Linked DNA regions of Homo sapiens: regions 2, 3, 4 and 5 are each linked to region 1. Evidence: promoter capture Hi-C in 16 types of primary human blood cells and fetal thymus (Javierre and others, 2016). All regions are on one chromosome and are shown on one strand. The core of a region is centred on a gene start or on the middle of the fragment in contact, and the rest is flanking DNA. Distances in the headings are between cores, read along the strand shown. Region 1 holds the start of CUL5 (cullin 5). Region 2 overlaps DDX10 (DEAD-box helicase 10). Region 3 overlaps DDX10 (DEAD-box helicase 10). Region 4 has its middle 19 kb from the start of DDX10. Region 5 has its middle 16 kb from the start of EXPH5.

What was found. The method cuts DNA at HindIII sites, captures the fragments that hold promoters and counts their contacts. A CHiCAGO score of 5 or more calls a contact.
Region 2: a fragment that was not itself captured here is called in contact with the fragment with the promoter of CUL5 in region 1 in 1 of 17 cell types (total CD8 T cells); the score reaches 5.7 in total CD8 T cells.
Region 3: a fragment that was not itself captured here is called in contact with the fragment with the promoter of CUL5 in region 1 in 1 of 17 cell types (total CD4 T cells); the score reaches 5.2 in total CD4 T cells.
Region 4: a fragment that was not itself captured here is called in contact with the fragment with the promoter of CUL5 in region 1 in 3 of 17 cell types (fetal thymus, naive CD4 T cells and naive CD8 T cells); the score reaches 6.2 in fetal thymus.
Region 5: a contact is called between a fragment that was not itself captured here and the fragment with the promoter of CUL5 in region 1, in 1 of 17 cell types (naive CD4 T cells). The highest score is 5.5, in naive CD4 T cells.

What each region holds. Positions count from the first base shown.
Region 1 is chr11:108,007,473-108,010,381 of GRCh38, reverse strand. It overlaps CUL5 (cullin 5), which reads right to left and starts at 1,484. Exons shown (of 19, transcript NM_003478.6): 1 at 1,010-1,484. The coding sequence starts at 1,033. RefSeq lists enhancers at 970-1,159, 1,260-1,359. The HindIII fragment of the contact is 8,314 bases long and covers 1-2,909 here.
Region 2 is chr11:108,731,951-108,734,859 of GRCh38, reverse strand. All of the region lies in intron 13 of DDX10 (DEAD-box helicase 10), which reads right to left. The region is part of intron 2 of LOC124902750 (a long non-coding RNA gene); the gene reads left to right. Among named protein-coding and RNA genes, the nearest start is that of DDX10, 68 kb to the right of the region's middle. RefSeq lists an enhancer at 969-1,088. The HindIII fragment of the contact is 570 bases long and covers 1,094-1,663 here.
Region 3 is chr11:108,689,491-108,692,399 of GRCh38, reverse strand. It overlaps DDX10 (DEAD-box helicase 10), which reads right to left. Exons shown (of 18, transcript NM_004398.4): 8 at 362-524. It also overlaps the pseudogene RPS2P39. Among named protein-coding and RNA genes, the nearest start is that of DDX10, 26 kb to the right of the region's middle. The HindIII fragment of the contact is 1,540 bases long and covers 759-2,298 here.
Region 4 is chr11:108,644,147-108,647,055 of GRCh38, reverse strand. No RefSeq gene overlaps it. Among named protein-coding and RNA genes, the nearest start is that of DDX10, 19 kb to the left of the region's middle. The HindIII fragment of the contact is 8,630 bases long and covers 1-2,909 here.
Region 5 is chr11:108,608,198-108,611,106 of GRCh38, reverse strand. No RefSeq gene overlaps it. Among named protein-coding and RNA genes, the nearest start is that of EXPH5, 16 kb to the right of the region's middle. The HindIII fragment of the contact is 5,891 bases long and covers 1-2,909 here.

The sequences.
Region 1 (2,909 bases), core at 235-2,734:
GATGGTTAGGTTCCTGTATATTTTCTATTATTTTCTAGTATTCATCCACATTGCCTGAAGGCATGAGAGGCCTCAGGAAGAAGTGGTTCATCCTTTGTATTAGGCTGGTGCAAAAGTGACTGCGGTTTTTGCCATTAATATTATGTTCCCTGAGCTATTCACTACCCCCATTTCTGTCCGTACTTTTAAGGCAAATGATTAACTACTACAGACACATACACAGAACAGACTAGTTCTAAGTCTTCCTCATTCTTCTCCAAACTTTTTAACTGGTGGAGAATCTGCCCCTGTGGGCCTAGATCTCCCTTGCTATATAAAACTAACTTTAAATACTGTCTTTGACAAGGTAACTTTCCTGCGCCCTAAAACGATGGTATCGCTTCATCAGTTGTCATCTGGTTGTGTCCTGTAACTGGGTGGGGGTTAGAAAGCAGTTTCCTAAGGAAAAAGATGAACTCAAGAATGGGAGAATTAGGAGGGAAGGTGTAACACGCAGAAAAGGGAGGAAGGGGGGTGGAGTGGGAGGCACTGCTGGTCTGACTCGGAATTTCGTGCAGACAGAACGAGAACAGAAATGGAAGAAGTGGGGGGTCGAGTCACTGAAACCTGTTAGGCAGCATTTTCTTGGTTTTTCCTTTGATGCGTCTTAGACATTGCTTTACAAGAAACTGAGACCTAACAGTACTAACGGCCCAGCTGGTCAGGACACCGCACGACCATTCATCTCCCGCTCCCGGCCAGAGCTGGTCCCTTGAAAGCATCGCTCCTCGCCAGCGCTCAGCCAGGCTTTTCTCCCAGCGGCCAGTCGGCGGGAGCGACCACCAGAGCCTGTCGACCCCAAGGCCACAGACCCGCGTTCCGGTACTCGCCGGCTGCCACCGCGGCTTCCCTGCCAGTGGACAACCCCTGAACACTCCCACACTTCGCAGCTGAACCTGAGCCGTGCCTTTCCCAAAGAGCCGAACCCGGCGGCCACACAGTAAAACCCAAGCTGGAGTGAGGGTCTTACCTTTAACAGATTAGACGTCGCCATGTTCTTTAACTTGGACTCTCGCGAGACGACGCGAGAATTCGTGGCGCTCCCGGCCAGGCCTTGACCGGAGGCCGGAGCTCCCACCAGGGCCCAGGGCCCGTCGGCCCGCACCAGGGTGTGGTGGGCGCTGGAGCAGCGCGCCGACAGCGCTGACCTCGTCCCAAGCACCAGGAGCTTCCTCACTCTTCTCCCCTACATGGTCACCGGAGCTTCCCCACGCGAAAGACCTCATGCACGCGCTCAGGAAGACCGGAACGGCGAATGCTGAGAAGGTAACGGGAGCCGACCTGACTTGGAAGAGGAAGCATCGACTCCACGAGCCTCCCCGACTCCTTCGGATTAGCCTTTGTGGTTGCACCCGCCGCGGCCACCTGCAACGAATTTAGCTCGGCTTAGGCCCCGCAGCTCAGGTTCCGCGGCCACGTCACGTGACGCGAGGGCGGGGACGCGCTCGGGAGCGAGCGTGGGAGCCTGGAAGCCTCGGTGGGTCCCGAGGCTGCAGCGAGGCCGGGACCGTGCCCTCTGCTGGCGGGACCTGGCGTTTTCCGGCACCCCGCCCCAAATCCCGGACTCGGTGTTAAGGGAGGTGCATTGTCCTGAAATGCTTACAACAGCTGTCTTCAATAACTCGTGCATAGAATGCGCCCAGTAAATATGTGTTGACTGCACAAGCGTGATGACTCTTAATATTTCTATTCAGGAATGCTTGGCACTTAGATAAAATATTGTTCAGTGCTTTGGGAGGCCGAAGGGGGAGGATCACTTGAGGCCAGTTCAACACCCTCGTCATTACAAAAAAGTTTGAAAAAAAAAAAAAAAGATTGTTTAGAGAATGAATATTAATCTTCGATTTTCTGAAGGCACATTATCCTAGAAGATCCTAAACCATAAGCCTCCGGGTTTTACCCCTTCAGACCACACACCACTGGCCAATGAGATAATATAATTTACATGTGGAACCTGCAGGATACCTGGTATTGTATTTTGCAGGTTTACAAACAGCCTTCATACGGCCATAATGCGTAGAAATAAGTAAGAGCTCTGGACTAAGAGAAGAGGGATGGGCCTACTTAAAGAATCCAATCAAGTAGTTAATACTTGTTTGAGCACTTGTATATACTAGGCACAGGAAATACAGGATTAAATAAAAGAGAAGACCCCTGCTCGTTTGGAGTTTATGGCCTAATAAGGTAGCCAAATGTTAAGGATGGCTACACAAGTCAAATATTACTTAGTGGGAGTTGTGATAAATATTGCAAAGAGGCCGGGCGCAGTGGCTCACGCCTATAATCCCTATAGGGCCCCGTGGCTCACGCCTATAATCGGCACTTTGGGAGGCCGAGACACCTGCGGTCAGGAGTCCGCGACCAGCCTGGCCAACATGGTGAACCCCTGTCTCTACTAAAAATACACAAATTAGCCGGGCATGGTGGCGGGCACCTGTAATCCCAGCTACTCGGGAGGCTGAAGCAGGAGAATCGCTTGAACCCTGAAGGTGGAGATTGCAGTGAGCCGAGATCGCGCTATTGCACTCCAGCCTGGACGACAGAGCGAGACTCTTGTCTCAAAAAAAAAACAAAAAAAACAAAAAAAAACTACAAACAAAAAAATACAGTGTGCACTTGAGAGCGTAGGAAGGGAAAGGAAACTAGTATCCTAATCTCCATCTACCCAAGCCACCCTTTGCTTATGCTTAACTGAACCTTAAGACAACTTTTGAGAGCTTGATTTCAGCGTCCTACTGTCAACCGAAGCATTCCAATTTTCCTAACTCACTTGTTCTGGAAACACCACTGCTACAACTCTGACTTCAATAAGTTCTCCATTCCATTGACCCCACCTGTTATCTGCCATCTCCTGTTTTCACTCTTTCTCA
Region 2 (2,909 bases), core at 129-2,628, 720 kb before region 1:
TTGTTTATGAATTTGAAAACTCCTTATTTCTAATCATATAACAAGTTCAAAGGGCAATTCACATGACCTTCAAGAACAGCCTGTCCTATTTCACATTTCTTTCATTACCTGTGTAACTACCTTAAAATAAAGATAAATACGGCCTGTAAAAGTAGCTGTTTAAACTTCAACCACAAAAGTAGATTTAAAAATTCAGTAGTTAGCAGATGTTATAAATATTGAATATTGTATAAAAGAAGGAGATAAAGGAAAACGACTCAATATTTGATATAATGATTCAGCATGTTACAGAATAAACATCATGCCAAAACCAGCTTTAAGCTTTCCACTGAAAATTTACATCCTCAGGAAGTCATCTGCATACCAAACTCAAATAGGAAAAAAAATACATAAAGCAACTCAATATATGCATCTAAGCTTCATGTTACACAATAACAACTCCTTTTGAATTGGAACAAAGCTTAGATTACAAAAAAAGAATTAAGCACAGGATGCCAAAAAACAGAAAAGACACCTATAAGACAAATGAGCATATATACCAAACTATTTCAGCTGGCAACATCTGAGATCATGCTACCATTGTTTCACTTCATGGTAGCAAAAATTCGGAGTACAGTAGTCTTGACTTTAGAGTTCTTCCTTCTGTTTAAGTCAACTGAACATTACATAAGGCCCCTGAACACAAATCACCAGGTATGGAAGAGATAAAAATTAAGAGACATGTGGCTACATTATGAAATGTCAAGAAAAAGAAAAAAATACTAGCAAAATAGACCATTGGAATCCAGAGGTCAGTGGGTTGAAGAAGTAAGGGATGGCTTCAAAGAAGAGACAAGATAAGCACTGCATCTTGAAAGATGTGAAATGCTGGAGTGGGAAGAAAATAATCCAGGAAGGAATCCTTCACTGTTTAAGTGGAAACTGGGAAGAATGGTCTCGCAGGACAATAGGATAGGGGCTAGCTTACAAAACCCAACTGCAAGGGTGAACTTAAGGGTAGCATGGAAGGTAAACCACTTGAAAAAAAATACTAATTTGACCAAGGTTCACAGGAAGATGACTCAGAAGAACAACGAGAACCAATTATGAAGCTTATCCCCCCGAGCCAAGAATGAGGTAATAAGAATCTGGGGGCAGAATGGCAGTGTAAGTGGGAAGTGAAAATGGAACACTAAAAGCCACCACTAAATGTAGAAATGACGGGAATCAAAGCAAGCACAATCATACCGAGGCAAGTCAGAGGGGCCTAAGTACAGACTCCAGTGCTAGCGCTTCACTAACTATGCAACATTAGGCAAGGAAGTAAGTGAACCTGTCAAAGCCTGTGTCTGAACTTGTAACATGACAACAACACTACACAAGGCTGTGGTAAGAATTTAAATAAGTGAGATATGATAGTCAAAGTGCATGGTAAGTTATAAAAAAATTGATAGATGTTAATCATTTTCCAGTACTTATTTTACAAATACTTAGTCCAAGTTCCTAAAAGTCACTAAGTACCTAACACAGTCCCTGGCATCCGTTAGGTAACTGCTGCTGAAAGGAGGGAAAAAGAGAGAAAGAGAAAAAGTGAAGAGACAAGAGGCAGAAACATCCTAGCTCCCACATAGGAGAATCTTGATTTGGAACTTGGAATCTTTTTATAAGAGTATACTTATAAGCTTCAAAGTTAGCTAATCTGTGTTTTAACACCAACAGTGAGTTCTTACAGTACTAAAAAAAGAAAAAGCTACTAAAAAAAAAAAAAAAAGTAGGACTAAATCAATGTAAACAGGATCTGGAATCAACTCTAAGGTACAATGAATAATCTATGGGTATCATTCAAATCTTAATTAAAACTGACCTATGTTTACTTTTAAGAAAGCTTTAAAAGGACATTTGTTGAGCTAAAATGGAATCTACCCAGTCTCATTTCTAAAAAGGTTTAAACTGAAAAAGAAAAGAAAGCATATGCTTAGAGATTTCATTCTCACATTTAAGGAAATAAGTGTTCCAAAAATAAATTTTAATTTAATCATTTTAATTGTATGTTCATGCTCTTATCTAACACTGTCTCCCTGGAGGTCAACTTTCTGAACACCCAACAAGACAATTAGCCAAAACAAGGTTCTTCCCTATGGTGGGAGGTCAACCAGCCATCTCTTACTGCCTTTGTGCCTGATCACTACACCTGCGCTCTCTCCTGCACATGTCTTATTGCTTCATCACTCGTGGCACTTCTCCACTGCTAAGAAAATCTTGTTGTCCTTCACTGCATCGATCTCGTCAAACAGAAAAGGATTGTGACAAGGCAGCATTCCAGAAGGCCTTGCTTGCACCTGGCACTCAGTACCTCTCGTCTCCATTTACGCCGAAGTCTAAAGGCAAACATTCATTTTATACTCCAAGTGTGCGCACACAATGAGTAGCCCAAAATTATTTACAATACTGTCAATTACACTGACATTACCCAATTACAGAAAGCAAACTACACACAAATAATGGTAGGCACGACAGCAGAGAAAGAAAATGTGACTTAGCATCACAAATAGGTTTAACTGCTAACTTCACCACTGTGACCTTGGACAAGTCACTTAAAAGCCTTCCTTTCCTCCTCCGAAATTTTAATAGCTACCTTTCTTGTCATAAGGAAAAATGAGAACTTATGCAGAAAGTGTTCAGTATATGGTAAAATGCCAAATAATTATGGTCTTAATTATAATGATATGATTATTAGACATATTCCATAAAATCTACAATCCAATGGGTTCCTACTGGCTCCAAGTTTCAATTTGGTTCTTGTACAAATCTTCTTTTTCCAGAGAGACAAGAAAGGGAAAAAAAGATAATCAAGATAAAGAGGATAAGTTATAAGTAACAAAGCCAGTTCCCTTCTGTGTCTGGTATGGTGTCTACAAAGACAATTCTAA
Region 3 (2,909 bases), core at 279-2,778, 680 kb before region 1:
TGGACTTCACTGATTTTTCTTGTTAAATGAGTTCAGTATCTATAAACAAGTTTCCAATTTTCAAAGAAATGGGAATTGTTTTCATATCTTTAAACTTTTAACCCCCTTTGATTTTGTAGGTTCCTCAGGATTCTATGGTGTGATTATCATGAAATAGTAAAAAAGATGCAAATACTGTGGAAATTTTCACTGATACATCCTTAATGTTAGTCAACTGCTACCAATTTACTACTTACTTTTCTCTTACAAAATAAGAAAAGAAACCCAAGTGTTTGAGTCTATCAGATTTCCCAAAATATACTTTATAAGCAAATTACATTTCACACAATCACAGAAATTTCATGATAGGAAGTTTTCTTACCCAGACCCCTGGCTGCAATATCAGTAGCAAAGAGTACTGCAGCTCTCTTACGGACAAACTCATTATAGACTTCCATTCTTCTCATTTGCTGCTGTCGACCATGGAGTGCAAGGATAGAAACACCAGGACGTAGCCGGCAAAACACTCGGTACAGATACTGGACCTGGGGCATCAACAGAAGAATAAGTTTGCTTATGGCAGATGGCAGCAATAAAGCTTTTCTCTTATCAACGTATCCCACAGAGTCTCAACAGCAGAGCAATGTGATACCCAATTCCAACCAAGTAAAAAAAGTAAAGAAACTCTTATTTAATCACAAGCAATTTAATTTCCTTCCCTCCTTTAATTCACATTTCTATTTCCTAACGTCACAGAATTGCATCTTAAGTTTGAAGCTTGAAAGCCTTTTATTGATGTTATCATAACTCATTTTCTACAAAAGAAAAAACTTATTTTAATTTCCTGTGGCCATAGGCTGACTGAACTTTCCTCTCAGACTCAGCAATTATTAAAATAATTAGTAATACAGAACTGATCAAACCAAGAAATATGTTGGGATTTGATTTAAAAAACTGTTAGACATAAATAAAAACATTGTAAATATATCTCAATGTGTGGGACTATATAGAGCTAATTGTTCTGGTTCTCTTTTTGTACCCATAAATGGATACTATGGATTACTAGACTGAAAAGAGTTCAGCATTATTTTATTTTCTCTAATATGGGGGTTAAAATCTGTTCACATAAATAAAACAAACTCAAAGGAAGTTTAATTCTGAGCTCCTATAAAATAGGCCAAAAGTCATAATGGATTATTCCAAATAATTTTTGGTGATCCAGTCGCTCAATTAAAGAGAAAGACCCCATTAAAGTCTCTCTTCAATTTTGCTGACAGTAAAGAATGGGAAACCAAGTGAATTGCTTGTTACCCAATCACTAGCCATTCACTTTCTCAAATGCAATTTGCTACTGCCAGGGAGGTTCTGATTCTGGGACAATATATCAGGCAAGTATCAGAGATAGCTGGACTTAGGCCTTTCTTTCGTAAAGATGTAAAAACAGCTTCTCCAAGAAAACATCAAATGGCAGATGATGCTGGTGCAGCGGAAGGGTCCACGGGACAAGGAATTGGAAACCACAGAGGCTTCGATGGAGGCTTCAGCAATAGCACCTGCAACCAAGGCCACTGAGGCAAAGCCAAGGGGTGGATGCCAGTCACAAAGCTGTGCTGCTTGGTGAAGGACATGAAGACCAAGTCCCTGGAGGAGATCTATCTCTTCTCCTGCCCATCAAGGAGTCTGAGGTCCTTGACATTTTCCTGGGGGCATCTCTCAAGAATGAGGTTTCAAAGATTACATGGCGCAAAAGTGGCCCACACTGGCCAACGCACTGGATTCAAGGCATGTTGCCACTGGGGACTACAATGGCCACACTGATACGGGTATCAGGTGCTCCAAGGAGGTAGCCACTGCCATTTGAGGAGCCATTATCCTGGCCAAGCTCTCCATTGTCCTTGTGCCAAGAGGCTACTTGGGGAACAAGATCGGCAAGCTCACCAGCCCTTGCAGGGTGACAGACCCTCTCTGTGCTGGTGAGACTTATCCCCACCTCAGGAGGCACTGGTATCATCTCAGCCCCATGCCCAAGAAGCTGCTGCTGATGGTGGGTATTGACAATTGCTATACCTCGACCAAGAGGCTGCATTGCCACCCTGGGCAACTATGCCAAGGCCACCTTTGATGCCATCTCCTACTCTAAAGAGTAGAAACTTTAAACAGAACTTTAAATAGAACTTTCAGAATCATTTCCTAGCACCTAGATGCCAAAACCAACTAACTCTTCTTTAGGAGATGTGAAGTTTATTGTTTTGTTGTTGGCTACTGCTCAGGATACACTTCCAAGTTGCCTTGAGGAATGCTCCCAGGAGACTGGAAGCTTTGAAAATCTAAAATCGGTCCTTGAAAAACTGAAGTCTTTTTTTTTTTTTTAAAGACAGGGTGTCGCCATCTTGCCCAAGCTGGTCTTAAACTTCTAGACTCAAGCAATCCTCCTACCTCAGCCTCTTAAAGTGCTGGGATTACAGGCGTGAGCCACCGCACCAAGGCTGAAGTCATTCTTTACATGGTAAAATAAGGTTCAGTAGACAACAGCATCAGATCACCACTTAACTTCCCATAAGCTAGAGAGAAACCCATCTACATATTTATCATGGAAAGTTATTGCAAAAGCTGTAAATCTAGAATTGATCTACTACATTCCCTATTAAGTCATTGGGAATCTGAAATATAGTACAGGAGAAGAGGCACACGCACGCACACATGCACAAAGACCGTAGTCCCTTCTCCTTAAGAGAGGAGACAAAGTTCTCTTAGACATCTCTGAAATCCTTATTCTTTATTCCTAGCACAGGGCTAGTGTTCAAGAAGTGTTTATTAACTAAGATATAAACAAAACACTTCAGAAGGTTAGGGGAGGGAACAACTGATTCTTTAAAAAGGGAGTGTCAGAAAGGGACTTTCAGGCATAACATTTGAACTTAGCCTCAAAG
Region 4 (2,909 bases), core at 257-2,756, 640 kb before region 1:
TTCCCACTAGGTTATTTAGGCAGATACATTATTCTTCAAAAATATAGCAAGTAAATTGAAAGCATTTCTTGCTTGGTTATCTATATATATGCGTAGTGCTTCTGCCAGACCATTTAGCTGGCAAAGTCTTGTTCAGCACAAACACAAATCATTCATGCTAAAAACAAGCCAATTTGTTTGTGTGCAGAAACCACTATCTCCCATGCTGATCTGGAAACAGAAAATGGCTTCAAAATTCTATCAGCAAGAACAATCTAGTGTGTAATAACAAATATTCAGTACATAGCAGAAGATACAGTTAATTGCTATCACATTTTTGTTTGTGTTGGTTGGTTGGTTGGCTGGTTGGTTGGTTGGTTTTAGAGACAGGGTCTCACTCTGTCATCCAGGCTAGAGAACAATGGCATGATCATAGCTTACTGTAGCCTTGAACTCCTGGGCTCAAGCAATCCTCCCATCTCAGCCTCCCAAGTAGCTGGGACTATAGGTGCATGCCACTACAACCAGCTCATTTTTAAATTTATTTTTGTAGAGTCGGGGTCTTGCTATGTTGCTCAGGCTGGTCTCAAACTCCTGGCTTCAAGCAGTCTTCCCACCTCGGCCTCCCAGAGTACTGGGATTATAGGCATGAGCTACTGTGCCCAGCTGTTAATGCTATATTTGAAATTCTACTTGTACTTCTTATTATGTTCAAATTATATCCTGAATTTAATAATTTAAAGTAAATAGAATCCTTGTAGTCATCAAGGAAAGCAAGGCAGTAACAGAGGAGAAAATGATTTCTGAAAGCAGGTGGTTTTCTAAATATGCAGATATTTATCACTGCAGGCCATAACACAGCTATGCATATTTTATTATTAACGAAGTATGCAGTGTATGCCTATAAATATTTGCCTGGGATTTTCCAAGCATCTTGTTCATGATACCATTTGGGTGATTATGGTCGTCTTTAACATGTAGACACAAGCATCAACATACCCCTTAGGTATTTATATGACAGGTTATAATTTAACAGATTTTTCCATTTTCTGCCTACTTGATTCTGTACTAGGTTCTGCCCTCATATTCTTCTATCTAAATCTGAGCCATCACCTAAAACACACTGCAAGTGTTTCCTCCATCGAGCTCATAGCAATTCTTTCTGCATAGAGTTCTCATGCTGTTTGGCATTGTTATGGGATTCTTCCCGTGCTTTTTCTTTCTAGAGAGATCATCCCTCCCCTCTGTGGAACATAAGGAGTGGAGGAAAAGCCAAGTCCCCTGGCACTCTTCAGTTTAATAATTACAGCTTTGGCCATCCATGAGTGTAACTACCTCCCTCCAAGAAATAAGTCAGACTCTATCGGGACAGCCTTGGGTCCAACTGCAAGAAGTCACTGTTGAAGACATTATGCTATGTGAAAAAAAAGCCAGTCATAAAAGACCACAAAGTGTATGATTCCATTCATATGAAATAACCAGAATATCCAAATGTATAGAAACAGAAGGTGGATGAGTGGTTGCCTAGGGCAGTGGGAGAGGGTAGGGAGGCAGTGGGGAAAATGGAGAATGACTACTAATGGGCATGACATTTCTTTTGAGGATGAAAATGTCCTAAAACCATGGTGATGGTTCCATAGCTTTCTTTCTTTTTTAATATTTTATTATTATTATTTTGCATAGCTTTTAAAATATACTAAAAACCATTGAATTGTACTGGCTTTTGTTTGTTTGTTTGTTTTTGTTTTTGTTTTTGTTTTTTTGAGATAGGTTTCACTTTGTTGCCCAGGCTGGAGTGCAGTGGCATGAACATGGCTCACTGCAGCCTCAACCGCCTGGGCTCAAGTTATCCTCCTGCCTCAGCCTCCCAAGTTCCTAGGACTATAAGTGTGTGCCACCATGCCTAGATAATTTATAAATTTTCTCTAGAGACTGGGTTTTGCCATATTGCCCAGGCTGGTCTCGAACTCTTGAGCTCAAGACACCTGCCCACCTCAGCCTCGCAAAGTGTTGGGATTACAGGTGTGAGCCACAGTGCCTGGCCAAACTGTACATTTTAAATGTGTAAATTGTTTGGTATGTGAATTATATCTCAATAAAGCTGTTAAAAAAGAAACCATTGTCCCTACATCAGCCACTACCCTCAGAGTCACCCTATGTGTATGTGTACTACAAATCTCTGTAATTATCAAGCTGTCCTCACAGGGTTAACAAGAATTCTGGACAGAAATATAGTTATAATTAAGCAGCTATAGTTAATCAGGCTGCGCTTTGCCCTCTTCCTTGTAACTGAAAGTAACATTAGATACTGACCATTTGCATTCCCACTGTTCCTACAGTTAGGATCTCTGATGTTAGAATCATATGGCTTTTGCTTATGAATTGCTTAAGGTGTTTTTTAGATCCCAAATCCCAGGGAAACAGCTGATGCCAACCAGTTTAAAGACCCCCACAGAGGAACCAAATCAGCATGAGAAAACAGTTTCCTTATCTCCCTGTCCCTTGACTTCACTCTGCACTTTTCAACTGATCAACAATCTCCATGCTTTGGCCCACTCCAAAACCCTTAAAAACTCTATCCCCAAACTCCTCAGGGAGACAGATTTGAGGTTTCTCCCATTTCCTCTTCAAAGGCCCTATGATTACACCTCTTTCTCTGCTGCAACCTGGTATCTTGGTGCCAGTAGGTAAAGGACCCTGTAGGTAAAGGACCCTGTAGGTAAAGGACCTACAGTTATAATCAGATACAATGACATCTTGTCCTTTGAATTTTCTCGTGGGACCTCTGGTGGGCTATTCATCTTATGCTTTGAAAAAACCTCTGAAATGGGTCATGGCCATACTATGTCTTAGGCAAAATATTGCTCCCTGATCTTTTTCCTACCACCTCACCTAGAGTTTGGACTTTGGCATTTATAAAACAAACTGGC
Region 5 (2,909 bases), core at 256-2,755, 600 kb before region 1:
AAAAAAAAAGGATTAATAATATAATAACAAATAAATTGTAGCTATTATATTACAGGAAAGTGGGAGAATGCAGCACTTTTGATCTGTGACTCCTCACCATATTCCTGGGATGGACATAAATACTGAATTAAATTATTCAAAATCCTGGGTAGTCTACTGTCCTATTTGAGGCTTGACATTTTGCACATGATGGATTTTTCAAGTCTGAAGCAAACATTGTCAAATAGAATATTCATTTTAGTTTCTTATCCCCTCCCTCCAAAGAAAAAAAAATGAAACAAAATTTTGTGGCTATTGTGGTAATCCATGTCTTATAAAAGCATGGCATGATCACCAGAGTATGACACTCTTTTCCTTTCTTGCCCTCCAATTCTGCACTCTCCTGGGTACTTCCTGTCTACCACCACCATAGGGTCTGCAGATCCATTCCAAATAGCTTCATTTAGGAAGCCAAGTCAGGCAAATGTTTGGCAGAGAAGTATATCAATAAAAATATCAATATCACTTTCAAAGGTAAATAAAAAATAGCTATAAGAATTACTTGGAATTTTATTATTTTACTCAGTTCTTCAATAAGAGGTCTGAAAATCAGCTTATCTAAAAAAGGGGCCATGGTGGCTCATCTCTCTAATCCTAGCACTTTGTGAGGCCAAGGACGGATTGCTTGAGTCCACGAGTTCAAGACCAGCCTAGACAACATGGCAAAGCACTCTCTCTACAAAAAAAAAAAAAAATACAAAAATACAAAAATTAGCTGGGCATGGTGGCGCATGCCTGCCTGTAGTTCCAGGGGGGCCGAGGTGGGAGAATTGCTTGAGCCCAGGAGATTGAGGCTGCAGTGAGCCTTGATTGTGCCACTGCACTCCAGCCTGGGTGACAGAGCAAGACCCTGTCTCAAAAATCAATTAATTAATTAATTTAAAAAATTAAAAAGGAAGAAAATGGAGAGAAATAACATCCGAGCTTTTCTGCAGGGGAGCAACAGTGCAAGGCTGAGCCTCTTTTATAGCCTAGCTGCTCATGAGCCCACATACAATAGGCCCCCTTTATCTAAGACTGCACTTTTTGCAATTGCGGTCCGAAAATATTAAATGGAAACTTCGAGAAATAAACAATTCATAAGTGTTAAATTGCACACTTTTCTGAGTAGTGTGATGAAATCTCACACCATCCTGCTCCATCCCACACAGGATATGGATCCTCCCTTTGTCCAGTGTATCCATGCTGTCTACATTCCCTGCACCTTAGTCACTTAGCAGCTGTCTTGATTATCAGATTGACGGTTGAGGTCTCACAGTGCTCGTGTTCAAGTCACCCTTGTTTTATTTCATAATGGCCCCAAAGCACAACAGTAGTGATGCTGGAAATTCAGTCATGCCAAAGAGAAGTTGTAAAGTGCTTCCTTTAAGTGAAAGGGTGAGAGTTCTCAACTTAATAAGGAAAGAAAAAAATTCATACAATGAGGGGGTTTGCTAAGATCAACTATATAAACAAATCTTCTATCAGTGAAATTTTGAAGGAGAAAAAAGAAATGTGTGCTAGTCTTGCTTTTACACCTCAGACTGCAAAAGTTATGGCCACGGCGCATAATAAATGCTGAATTAAGATGGAAAAGGCATTACATTTGTGGGTGGAAGACATAAACAGAAACATGTTCCAGTTGATAGCAAAGGGAGTGGGATGGGAGGTAGGGAATGACCAGGGTCACACATCAGGCTGATCAGGCAGAACAATATCAAATAGAAGAAAGCTGCTCAACCTTGCAGTATTGACCTTTTGCACTGAATGATTCCTTATCTTCAGGGGTCATCCTGAGCATTGAAGGAGGTTTAGTAGGATCTCTGTTTTCTAAGAACTAGATGCCAGTAGCTACCCACCCCCTCTACCGCCAATCCCTCCCCAACCCATCCCTGGAGCTGTGACAATCAAAAATGTCTAGGGAATGGCCAATTGTCCCCACTGGGGTGGGTGTGAAGAGAAATTGCCCCTGCTTAAGAATCACATACATAGGATAATATCAGCAAAGATCATGTATCACTGTGAGATACCAAGATCCCAAAAGGAGTTTGAGTATAGAGGACTAATTCAGGCAGGAATAATTCTCAAGGACAATGGTTGCTGGAATCAGCCTTCAGCCCTGGACTTGCTCCCTCTCCTTTCTTTCTCTTCTCTTTCCCCTCCTCTTTCCTCTCTTCCTCCTCCCTCTCCTTTTCCTCCTTTTCTCCTCCCCCTTCTCTGATCCCCTCCCCCTCTCTCTCACACAGAGAATTTGACTTTGTCTTTTGTTTTGTTTTGTTTTGTTGAGACAGGATCTTTCTCTGTCACCCAGGCATGATCATGGCTCACTGTAACCTCCAATTCCTGGGCTCATGCGATCCTCCTGCCTCAGCCTCCCAGGTAGCTGGGTTTACAGGTGTGAGCCCCTGCACCAGGCCAGAGGATGTGACTTTGGCTTGCAGAGAGCAGCTCTCTAAGACAGAAGTCTTTGCAATCTCTGCTTGAGCAATTTTCTATACCACCAAATAGGTATTAGCCCAATTCTCTTAGCTTCTGGGAAGGAGCTGCAGAGAAGCATGGAAAACTTCCTTTCTCCTATACTCAGCAAATACACATTCAACAACACATAGAGGAACATTTAGGGAAAGCTAAGTTTAATAGCTGTGGGCTGGGCGTGGTGGCTCATGCCTGTAATCCCAGCACTTTGGAAGGCCGAGGCAGGCAGATTGCTTGAGCCCGGGAGTTCAAGACCAGCCTGGGTAACATGGTGAAATCCCATCTCTACTAAAAATACAAAAATTAGCCCGGTGTGGTGGCACATGCCTGTAATCCCAGCTACTGGGGAGGCTGAGGCAGGAGAATTGCTTGAACCAGGGAGGCAGAGGTTGCAGTGAGCTGAGATCACACCACTG